Regions from separate parts of the Homo sapiens genome. Here regions 1 and 3 are each linked to region 2. The links are contacts of gene promoters, found by promoter capture Hi-C in blood cells and fetal thymus (Javierre and others, 2016). All regions are on one chromosome and are shown on one strand. The core of a region is centred on a gene start or on the middle of the fragment in contact, and the rest is flanking DNA. Distances in the headings are between cores, read along the strand shown. Region 1 overlaps TOP6BL (TOP6B like initiator of meiotic double strand breaks). Region 2 holds the start of ZDHHC24 (zDHHC palmitoyltransferase 24). Region 3 overlaps TOP6BL (TOP6B like initiator of meiotic double strand breaks).

The links. The method cuts DNA at HindIII sites, captures the fragments that hold promoters and counts their contacts. A CHiCAGO score of 5 or more calls a contact.
Region 1: a contact is called between a fragment that was not itself captured here and the fragment with the promoter of ZDHHC24 in region 2, in 2 of 17 cell types (M2 macrophages and M1 macrophages). The highest score is 6.9, in M2 macrophages.
Region 3: a fragment that was not itself captured here is called in contact with the fragment with the promoter of ZDHHC24 in region 2 in 1 of 17 cell types (M1 macrophages); the score reaches 6.2 in M1 macrophages.

The regions. Positions count from the first base shown.
Region 1 is chr11:66,800,726-66,803,957 of GRCh38, reverse strand. TOP6BL (TOP6B like initiator of meiotic double strand breaks) reads right to left here. Exons shown (of 15, transcript NM_001302084.2): 6 at 2,856-2,927. Among named protein-coding and RNA genes, the nearest start is that of RCE1, 41 kb to the left of the region's middle. The HindIII fragment of the contact is 3,787 bases long and covers 1-3,232 here.
Region 2 is chr11:66,544,620-66,547,927 of GRCh38, reverse strand. It overlaps ZDHHC24 (zDHHC palmitoyltransferase 24), which reads left to right and starts at 1,880. Exons shown (of 3, transcript NM_207340.3): 1 at 1,880-2,205. The coding sequence starts at 1,925. ACTN3 (actinin alpha 3) reads right to left here and starts at 1,025. Exons shown (of 21, transcript NM_001104.4): 1 at 844-1,025. The coding sequence starts at 990. RefSeq lists enhancers at 1,278-1,327, 1,398-1,457, 2,606-2,715 and silencers at 1,578-1,707, 1,888-2,127. The HindIII fragment of the contact is 15,014 bases long and covers 1-3,308 here.
Region 3 is chr11:66,818,998-66,822,338 of GRCh38, reverse strand. TOP6BL (TOP6B like initiator of meiotic double strand breaks) reads right to left here. Exons shown (of 15, transcript NM_001302084.2): 10 at 575-696. Among named protein-coding and RNA genes, the nearest start is that of RCE1, 23 kb to the left of the region's middle. The HindIII fragment of the contact is 3,144 bases long and covers 77-3,220 here.

The DNA.
Region 1 (3,232 bases), core at 268-2,767, 260 kb before region 2:
CCTCTTAAGAAATTATTTAAAAGAGCATTCAAAATTATTTTTGTAACCTCTAGCATATGTACAACCACACAACCTGCCATATCAGTTTTGTTGGAATAAATAACTTATGTCTCACTCAGGGAATCACAGCAATGGAAGTAGTAGAAAAACTGGCATTTCAGAGATATCATTGCTCCTGCTTTTGCTGCCACTAACGGATGCTTCTTAGTTTCTCTTTTTAAAAAAACATTTTAGACCAGGCATTGTGGCTCATGCCTGTAATCCCAGCACTTTGGGAGGCTGAGGTGGGTGGATCACTTGAGGTCAGGAGTTCAAGACCAACCTGGCCAACATGGTGAAACTCCATCTCTACTAAAGATACAATAGCTGTGCATGATGGTGCACACCTGTAATCCCAGCTATTCAGGAGGCTGAGGCAGGAGAATCGCTTGAACCTGGGAAGCGGAGGTTGCAGTGAGCTGATATTGCGCCACTGCACTCCAGCCTGAGCAACAGAGCGAGACTTTGTCTCGAAAAATAATTACTATTATTTTATTTTATTAGAGATGGGGTCTCACTATGTTTATTAGGCTGGTCTCAAACTCCTGGCCTCAAGCAATCTTTCTGCCTTGGCCTCCCAAAGTGCTGGGACTACAGGTGTGAGATATCATGACCAGCCTGTTTCTTATTCTCAAGTATACTTCCTCCACTAAAATTAATCTTTGGTTCTGAGCAAATTTCCAAATTCATTCAAAGGTCAGCATTGTGTGAGGGGGCCCATGAATCACAAATGGCCTAAAACTGGCCCCATGATACTTATAAGTCTGCTCTCACGCATGCTACACCTTCCGCTGAAGAGGTCTGAGGTTGCTGTTTGATAGTAACAATGAGAAAAAACCAGGCCATCTTTCTCTCCTAGAAAGAATCTAGTAAAATTTTGTTACTTTCCAATAGCTCTTTTCTAAACAGAGAGAAAACAGTCAACCTGAGAAAGCTGATTAAGAATGAATGAATTAATTAATAGAGAGGAAATATTAATGAACCTTTCCCTTTGTCTCTAATCAGGTCATCCAAGGAAACACATCTACAAAAATTGGCTCAAAGGCTTAAACTTGTGTCAGTACAACTATGATGATGAGCTGCTACCTGTAAGGATTGTTTATTATTAGAGGATCACTAAAGAAAGATATGGGGTGGGGAAATTATTACCTGCATATTAAATGACAAAAATATTCTCATCTGAGGTGTAATTTTGGGTGAGAATAAGAAAACAGACTAAGAACCACAGGCAGTCTCTTTAAGCCTTAAGAGACTTTGACTACTAGTGTTGCCTCTGGGCACATAAATAGAGGCAGAAACTAATGAATAAAGACTAAATTAGGGCTGGACACATTGGCTCACATCTGTAATCCCAGCTCTTTGAAAGGCCGAGGCAGGAGGATTGCTTGAGTCCAGGAGTTTGACACCAGCCTAGGCAACAACCTCATCTCTACAAAAAAAAATTTTTTTTAAATTAGCAGTATATGGGCTGGGCGCAGTGGCTCATGCCTGTAATCTCAGCACTTTGGGAGACCGAGGCAGGAGGATCACGAGGTCAGGAGATTGAGACCATCCTGGCCAACATGGTGAAACCCCATTTCTACTAAAAATACAAAAAAATTAGCTGGGCGTGGTGGCATGCACCTATAGTCCCAGCTACTCAGGAGATTGAGGCAGGAGAATCGCTTGAACCAGGGAGGTGGAGGTTGCAGTGAGGTGAGATCTGCACTCCAGCCTGGGCGAAAGAGCGAGACTCCGTCTCAAAAAAAAAAAAAATTAGCAGCGTATGGTAGCATATTTCTGTGGTCCTAGCTACTAGCTACTCGAGAGGCTGAGGTGGGAAAATGACTTGAGCCCAGGAGACCAAGGCTGCAGTGAGCTATGATGGCATCTGGGTTGAACAGACTGAGACCCTGTCTCAAAAAAAGAAAAAATAAATTAATTGGACTTAAGCATATGTTAGGTCTTTTCTTGACATAATTCATTTTCACTTTGGATTCTGTGGTAGTTAAATGGCACAGGAAGGCAAGACAGAAGGGCTCTGTGTGTTCCATATTGTTTACCACCTCCTCCATGGATTTTTTACATTTTTTATTTATTTATTTTTTTTGAGACAGAGTCTTGCTCTGTCGCTGGAGTGCAGTGGCGTGATCTCGGCTCACTGCAACCTCCACCTCCTGGGTTCAAGTGATTCTCATGCTTTGGCCTCCCAAGTAGCTGGGATTACAGGCATGTGCTACCATGCCCAGCTAATTTTTGTATTTTTAGCAGAGACAGGGTTTTGCCATGTTGGCCAGGCTGGTCTCAAACTCTTAACCTCAAGTGATCCATCAACTTCAGCCTCCCAAAGTGCTGGGATTATAGGCATGAGCCACTGCGCCTGGCCAGATTTACTTTCTTGGAGTCTGAAGAAGATGGAGATGGGCAGAGAGATGATTTCCAAACCTATGCAAAATGCTGATGCACAGAAAATAATGTACACTGAATTCCTTTGTATTCATACTATCTCTCTAGCCAAGAATTCAAGTAAAGTTTTAAATTCATAGTCTTCTCTTCTCATGCCTAAATGGGATTGGAACTAGCAGGGTCTGTGTAAAATAAGGCCTGAAGAGAAGAAGGCACATGTCTTCAGGTCATTTAGAATAGATTCAAATACATAAATAACTTAAAATAGCAGTTTTCAACATAAAAAAAAGTTTTACTTCTGCTTTTCTTATAGAGAAGCTGACACCTGGCACTTACAAATGACAAGTGAGACAATTTCCAATTTCTACCCACATTCGTACTCGAGAGGAGAGTAAAACATGCAGAGGGACAACAAGGCTTTACGCCTTCACCTCACATAATGCTGGGAGTCGACCAAAAGAGCAATTCCATTCCCAAGGTTCAAAGTGGGTTCATTCTCCACCCTGCAAAGCAAAGCAAAGCTAAGCCATCTCTCAAAGATTCTAAAATCAATCTCTGTTTGACATAAATTTTGGCCCATGACTACTACCACCCCAGCGATTACTAGAATTCAGTAACTAATTAACCAAGGGGAAAATGGCAATCTTTAAGTTTACCCCCTCTAGAGACAGGGATGAATCTACTAAAATAATAAAATGTGGGGGTGTCAGAAAATTAGTTTCAAGGTGACTTTGGGTCAAGATATCAAACTGTGAACCTTTTGGAAATAGGACAATAATAGCTGAGAAAAATTGCAGAGCCATAGCAT
Region 2 (3,308 bases), core at 631-3,130:
TTGGGAAAGTCTGGGAGTGAAAATAGCTCAGGGAGGGAGGGGCCCTGAGTGCCCAACGGGCTGGGCCTGGGTAGCAGCTGCCCCTGTGCCCCTCTTTGGCGCCCCCGAGGTGCTGCCTCAGCACTAAGTGTCCATCTGGCTGGAGAGTCAGGTTACAGCGTAAGGGGACCCAGGTCTCCCCTCCTCCCCGACCTATGGCCTTTTCAGCAGACTCAGGGCCCCATGCCTGGGGTATCTTGGGAAAGAATGGGGGTAGGGAAAAGGGTAAAGATCCTCAGGTTGCGGGGGTCCTGATGTCTGACAGTCTGTGATGTGGGGCCTGTCTGTGCTCTTTCTGGGCTTCAGTTTCTTCAATTGTTAAATGAGATACAGCGACTATGGACCCCACCCTGGAGACGAGGTGGGGTGGGGTCTGAGAGGACCCTTCTCACTACCCCCACACTCCCAAGTCCACTAGTTGCCTGACTGCAAGCCTTCAGGGTGGGGTCTGGGAATATTTAACTAGAAGAAGATTCTTCTTTCTGAACCCCCCCTAACTTGGATCTCCTGGGGTTTGCCCAGCCTGTTTTCAGCAGCAGAAGTGGGGCAGTGGGCCCAGGGGAATGAACCCTGGTGGGGGTGGGGAGCCCAGAAACTCTCTTGTCATTTTAAACCCCTCTTGAGGGCTCCCAGCCCTCTCCTCCAGCCCTGGGGACAGCAGGCAGCTGATGGGCAGAGCCTGGGCTGGGGATTAGCACTCTAGGTTAAAGACAAGCTCTGCCCCTGCACTGCTGAGATGCCCAGGACAAACAGCCCGGCCTCTCAGGCCTCGGTTTTGCTGTCAGGAAATGGGCGAGCACTCACTTTCCGCTGCTGCTTCTCCCAGGCCGGGTCCAGCAGCAGGTCGCGGTCCCAGTCCTCCTCCTGTTCCATGTACTCGCCGCCCCCGCCGCCGCCCGCAAAGCGCCCCTCCCCGGCCCCCAGACCCTCGGGCTGCATAACCATCATCATCTCGATCGGGCTCCTGGCTTCGCTCCGCTCGGCACGCTCTCGGACACCCGGGCCCCATTAAGTAGGGCCCAGCCCAGCCCCAGATCGAATTCGCACTAAATATGGGGGAGGAGGGAGGGGCCGGATGGGGGTGAAGGAGCTCGGGTTGGACCTGGCAAGGGGTTGTCCTGAAGCCGGGAACTGCGGGACTCGGGGGCGCCGGGGTGGATCTCGCGGCGGAGATCCTGGGTTTGCATTCCTGCTCCGCTGCTGGGGCGCTGTGTGACCTTGAGAAATCCACGGGACCTCTCTGAGTCTGTTTACTCCTCTCCACAATAGAAAGGCCGATAATAATAGTGGCCGCGGGCCGCTCTAGAGGCTGCCCTCTGGAGCTCCTCGTGAGCCTCTTCCAGCACCTCGCTGGTGGGACACAGAGCCCTATCCCCATTTCACAGTCAGGAACACAGAGGCGCCGAGCTGTTTTGCATGTTTTCTGGGGTGATGGAGACACCCGGGCATGGGGAACGGCTCTGAGCCAGCTGGATGGGCTGCGGCAGGGCTATTAATATCGGGGCGGCTGTGGGGAGTAGGGGAGAATGTGCTGAGCCGGGAAACCCCGACACCACCCCGGCTGCAACTCAATCCCCCGGGCACTCCTGGCCCCCGCGCCAGCGGGCGGGGCTCCGACGGGATGGGAGGAGCCTCCAGGGTGGGCGGGTCAATCACTCCGCGGCGTTATCCGGGCTCCAGCGCCGCGGGATTCCGAGCGCCTCCACTGCTGGTCCGTTGGCCAGATCAACTCGCCGCGTGGGCCGGCCGTTCCCTGAGAGTCTGAGCGCTCGCCGCACCCCCTTCCGAGCTTCTATTGGCCGTAGCAGACGTCCGTCTGCCGCTATCTCCGCCCCAATACGGAAGCGGCCTAGTCCTCCGGCTCCGACAGCTGGGTGTCCAGGCCATGGGGCAGCCCTGGGCGGCTGGGAGCACGGACGGGGCGCCCGCGCAGCTGCCTCTCGTGCTCACCGCGCTGTGGGCCGCGGCCGTGGGCCTGGAGCTGGCTTACGTGCTGGTGCTCGGTCCCGGGCCGCCGCCGCTGGGACCCCTGGCCCGGGCCTTGCAGCTGGCGCTGGCCGCCTTCCAGCTGCTCAACCTGCTGGGCAACGTGGGGCTCTTCCTGCGCTCGGATCCCAGCATCCGTGGCGTGATGCTGGCCGGCCGCGGTCTGGGCCAGGGCTGGGCGTGAGTGGGGTGCGGGATCGGGCGGGGAGAAGTGGGAGCCTTGGACAGGGGGGAGGGGCCCCAAGACCTGAGATGTTAGAACCGGGTTACATTAGGATCCAGGTTGTTAGAATCAGACATTTTTTTAGAACCTGGGATGGAAGAGCTAGAATTGAGTGTTATTTATTTACTCGCAAATACTTATTGGGAGCCTACTAGGTGCAAGGTTTTGTTACAGGGACGAAGGGTACAATAGAACAAATTCCTGATTTGAGGGGGGTGCAGATGAGAAACTAGAGGAATAATAAGCAAATCATATAGAATGCTAGAAGGTGATAGTAGTTTGGAAACAAGAAGTAGAGCAGGGTAAAGGGGTTGCAAGTTTCAATATTAAATAGGTGGTTAGGCCGGGTGCGTTGGCTCACATCTGTAATCCCAGCACTTTGGGAGGCCGAGGCCGGCGGATCACTTAAGGTCAGAAGTTTACCAGCCTAGCCAACGTGGTGAAACCCCGTCTCTACTAAAAATATAAAAAAATTAGTCGGGCATGGCGGCACGTGCCTGTAATCTCAGCTACTGGGGAGGCTGAGGCAAGAGAATTGTTTGAACCTGGGAGGCGGAGGTTGCAGTGAGCCGAGATCGAGCCACTGCACTCCAGCCTGGGTGACAGAGCAAGACTCCCTCCGTCTCAAATAAATAAATACATAAATAAACAGGTGGTAAATTCTCATCACAAAAATATGAGTGTTTGAGGTAATGGCTATCCTAATTAGCTTGATTTATTCCAAGCTGTACTGATAAATCATAACATCACTTGGTATCCCATAAGTATATACAACTGGAATTTGTCAATTTATAATTAGAAAAAAAAATTACACCAGGTACAGGCTCTACACACACATTTTATGCCAGGCAGAGGCTTTTGCTGAGACTGAGGCTGTAGTGTGCTATGATCACACCTGTGAACAACCACTACACTCCAGCCTGGGTAATGTAGCGAGACTCTGTCCCTAAAAATTTTTTTTAATTAATTTTTAAAATAATATACATAAATGTGTGGTCAAGGTAGACCTCATAGAGAAGGAGGCATTTGAGCAAAAAACTTGGAGGGCGTGGGGGGCGGT
Region 3 (3,341 bases), core at 399-2,898, 270 kb before region 2:
GACACATCAGAGAAGACAAGCAATAGGACAATGATCAAGAAAACAGACACACTATTTGGGAAAAAAAAAAAAAGCTTTTAGTTCTGCTCTCTTAGTGTGGTTGTTTTTTCCCTGAAAAGGGGGCCATATGAGGTAAGAAATGTGTTACCAAAAGTACACAGGATGGATGGATGTAGAAAATCAGGTAAGGAGAGAAAGTGGTGGTGTAAAGAATTAGGAAAATGGGGGAAGAATGTAAGACACAGCGAAACAGCAGCTCCAGAAGTCTGTGTGGGAAGGGGAATTATATGCATAAGGAAGAGGTGTGTTATCAGCCATTTTTCCCTATTAACTATTTCCCTATTTACCCAAACACACCTACTAGGAGGTAAGACTAAGCAAGCTGGTTACAGTGATCCATCTAAGCTAAAGTTTGAGTTGTAGGCTAGATGCAGTGTTACAAGATCACCCAGGTGACAGAAGAGGAGAGGAAGGGGCATTAAGGGAGGAAGGGCTCCTGGGCCCTGCCTGCCATATATGCTTGCTATCTTTTTCTTAGAGAATAGGAGAAAAGAGGCTGTGAATTCCTTATTACCTTGGCAGCCTGGTGATGTTGCTCCAAGACCTTGTCCACAGTGAATTGGATGGAACCTTGCACTACACTGTGGCTCTCCACAAGGATGGCATTGAGATGAGTTGTGAGCAAAGTATAGACTCCTAAGGGGAGGGAGAAGGTAAAATTATCACTATATCTACCTCCCCTCACTGTGCATCTGCAAAAGCTAGTCTTAAATTACCAGATGTGGCCTGTAATCCCAGCACTTTGGGAGGCCGAGGCGGGCGGATCACGAGGTCAGGAGATCGAGACCACGGTGAAACCCCGTCTCCACTAAAAATACAAAAAATTAGCCAAGCACGGTGGCGGGCACCTGTAGTCCCAGCTACTCGGGAGGCTGAGGCAGGAGAATGGCGTGAACCCGGGAGGCGGAGCTTGCAGTGAGCCAAGATTGTGCCACTGCGCTCCAGCCTGGGTGACAGAGTGAGACTCCGTCTCAAAAAAAAAAAAAAAAAAATTACCAGATGTGTAAGATTTAAGACACTTGTTTACTAATACACTGATGAATTTCTTTTAAATCCAATACTGAGTACAACGACTGAGATACTGCAGGCCCTCAGAATCAAGCTAAACAGAGGTGTACAAATTATCACAGTAGTTCAGGAATGATAACACTGGTTTCTGAGGAATCCGAGTTCTTTAGAAATGTTCAGTAGGGCTCAGAACATGGTATCAGGCTTGCATTATCCAAGGATTAACCATGAGCGAGGATAACTACTTCAAGATTGCTGTTCATGTGCTTTGAGTCAGGACTGGGAGTGGGAAAGATGCCTCTTGGAAGAAGAGACCCCTACATATCCACAAATAATTACCTTTTTTTAGACAAAATCTCCCAGCAACTTACACACCTACCTAATTCCCACTCATAAATCTAAGAAAGCTCAGGAAAATTAAGGTGGAGAATGACATTATTTTTTAAAGAAACAAATAAGGGATCCTGTTTAATTCATAGCAGAAATATATACCATGTACTATAAACAACAATCCCAGTGACTCCCAAAGGAGAGGAGAAAGGGAGAAGCAAAGGTCCTATAGAGTGTGTCTAACCCTACTCTACGTCTATGTGAACATCACTGTTGTGGCAGTGCTTTCAGACGTACTGTGGTAAAGAAAAGGTTAAAATTCACAGAGATGACACAGAACTGTTGGTATGAGGTCCTTTTAAATGGGAGATTATCTCTGTTAAAGTAACCACAGGCACCACTGCTCAGTCTCATTCAGAAAAGCTAATATGTGAGAGCAACAGGCAAAAAAACTATGCCATCAAACAATAGGCCACCATTTAATGATCCCGATGCAGCAGGCACAGGAAGCCAAATTTACAGGTCACCTGGAGAAAATCCTTCTTGATTATTCTTTGTTTTCAGTGTTCAGAATTCTATGGGAAGCAGCCTAAAACTGGCTGGCTTTTTCCAGGACTGTATTAAAAATGCAAACCAGAAGAACATTTTCTACCACAAGGCACCATGATCCTTTCCTGGTAGGGAACGTAATATATGGTAAGCTCAAAAGGATTCTGGAGCTGGAGTCAGGGAGAACATAGATTCTAGGGCCAATTCTGCCATCAACTAGTGGTGATGAAATCTTTTCTTCAGTATAGAAAATGGCTTTATACCACCTGCTCTCACAGGTATGTTGTGTAGATAAACTGCGATAATGTACACAAAGTGTTTTGTGGGTTTTGTTGCCCAGCCTGGAGTGCAGTGACACGATCTTGGCTCACTGCAGCCTCGACCACCGGGGCTCAAGTGATCCTCCCACCTCAGCCTCCCGAATAGCTGGGACCACAGGTGTACACCACCACCATGCCTGGCCAATTTTTTTTTTTTTTTTTTTTTTAAGACAAGAGTTTTGCTCTTGTTGCCCGAGCTGGAGTGCAATGGCGTGATCTCGGCTCACTGCAACCTCCGCCTCCTGGATTCAAGTGATTATCTTGCCTCAGCCTCCCGAGTAGCTGGGATTACAGGCGCCTGCCACCACACCCAGCTAATTTTTGTATTTTTAGTAGAGACGGGGTTTCGCCATGTTGGCCAGACTGGTCTCAAACTCCTGACCTCAGTGTGATCCGCCCGCCTCGGCCTCCCAAAGTGCTGGGATTACAGGTGTGAGGGACCATGCCCGGGCAAATTTGTATATGTAGAGACGAGGTCTCGCTGTGTTGCCCGAGCTGGTCTTGAACTCTTGGGCTCAAGCGGTCCTCCTGCTTTGGCCCCTCAAAGTATTGGGATTACAGGAGCCAAGCCACAGTGCCTAGCCCATGAAGTGTTTTGAAATGTACACTGTACAGTTTCAAAATATTGCTATTGCTATGTTAATGTATCATCTAGATTGGTATTTTCCATAGTTTGGTTTTAAGAACAGCTTCAAGAAATCAGATCTCTTTTGAAAGCAGACATTTAATTTAAAAGTCAAAGTTCATTCCTAAAACTTTTGACCACCAAATGCTTTTGACATTGGGGAAAATAATGAGTTAGTCACAAGAAAAAAAAAATGAGTTAATCACAGAAAAGTTACCATGACAAGGTAGGTGGGCATAAGGCCAATTAAGTAATTTTCTTAAAGACACATGGAAACAGACTAACTTTGCACCATCTGTTTCCTAAAAAAGAGGCTCTAGAGAAAGCTTTTAAGGATATGAGAAAGAAAAGGGGGAAGAGAAGGTAAAATTATCACTATGTCTATATCTACCTTCCCTCACTGTGCATCTTCTTCAGAGGCTAGTCTTAAATTACCAGATGTGTAAGAT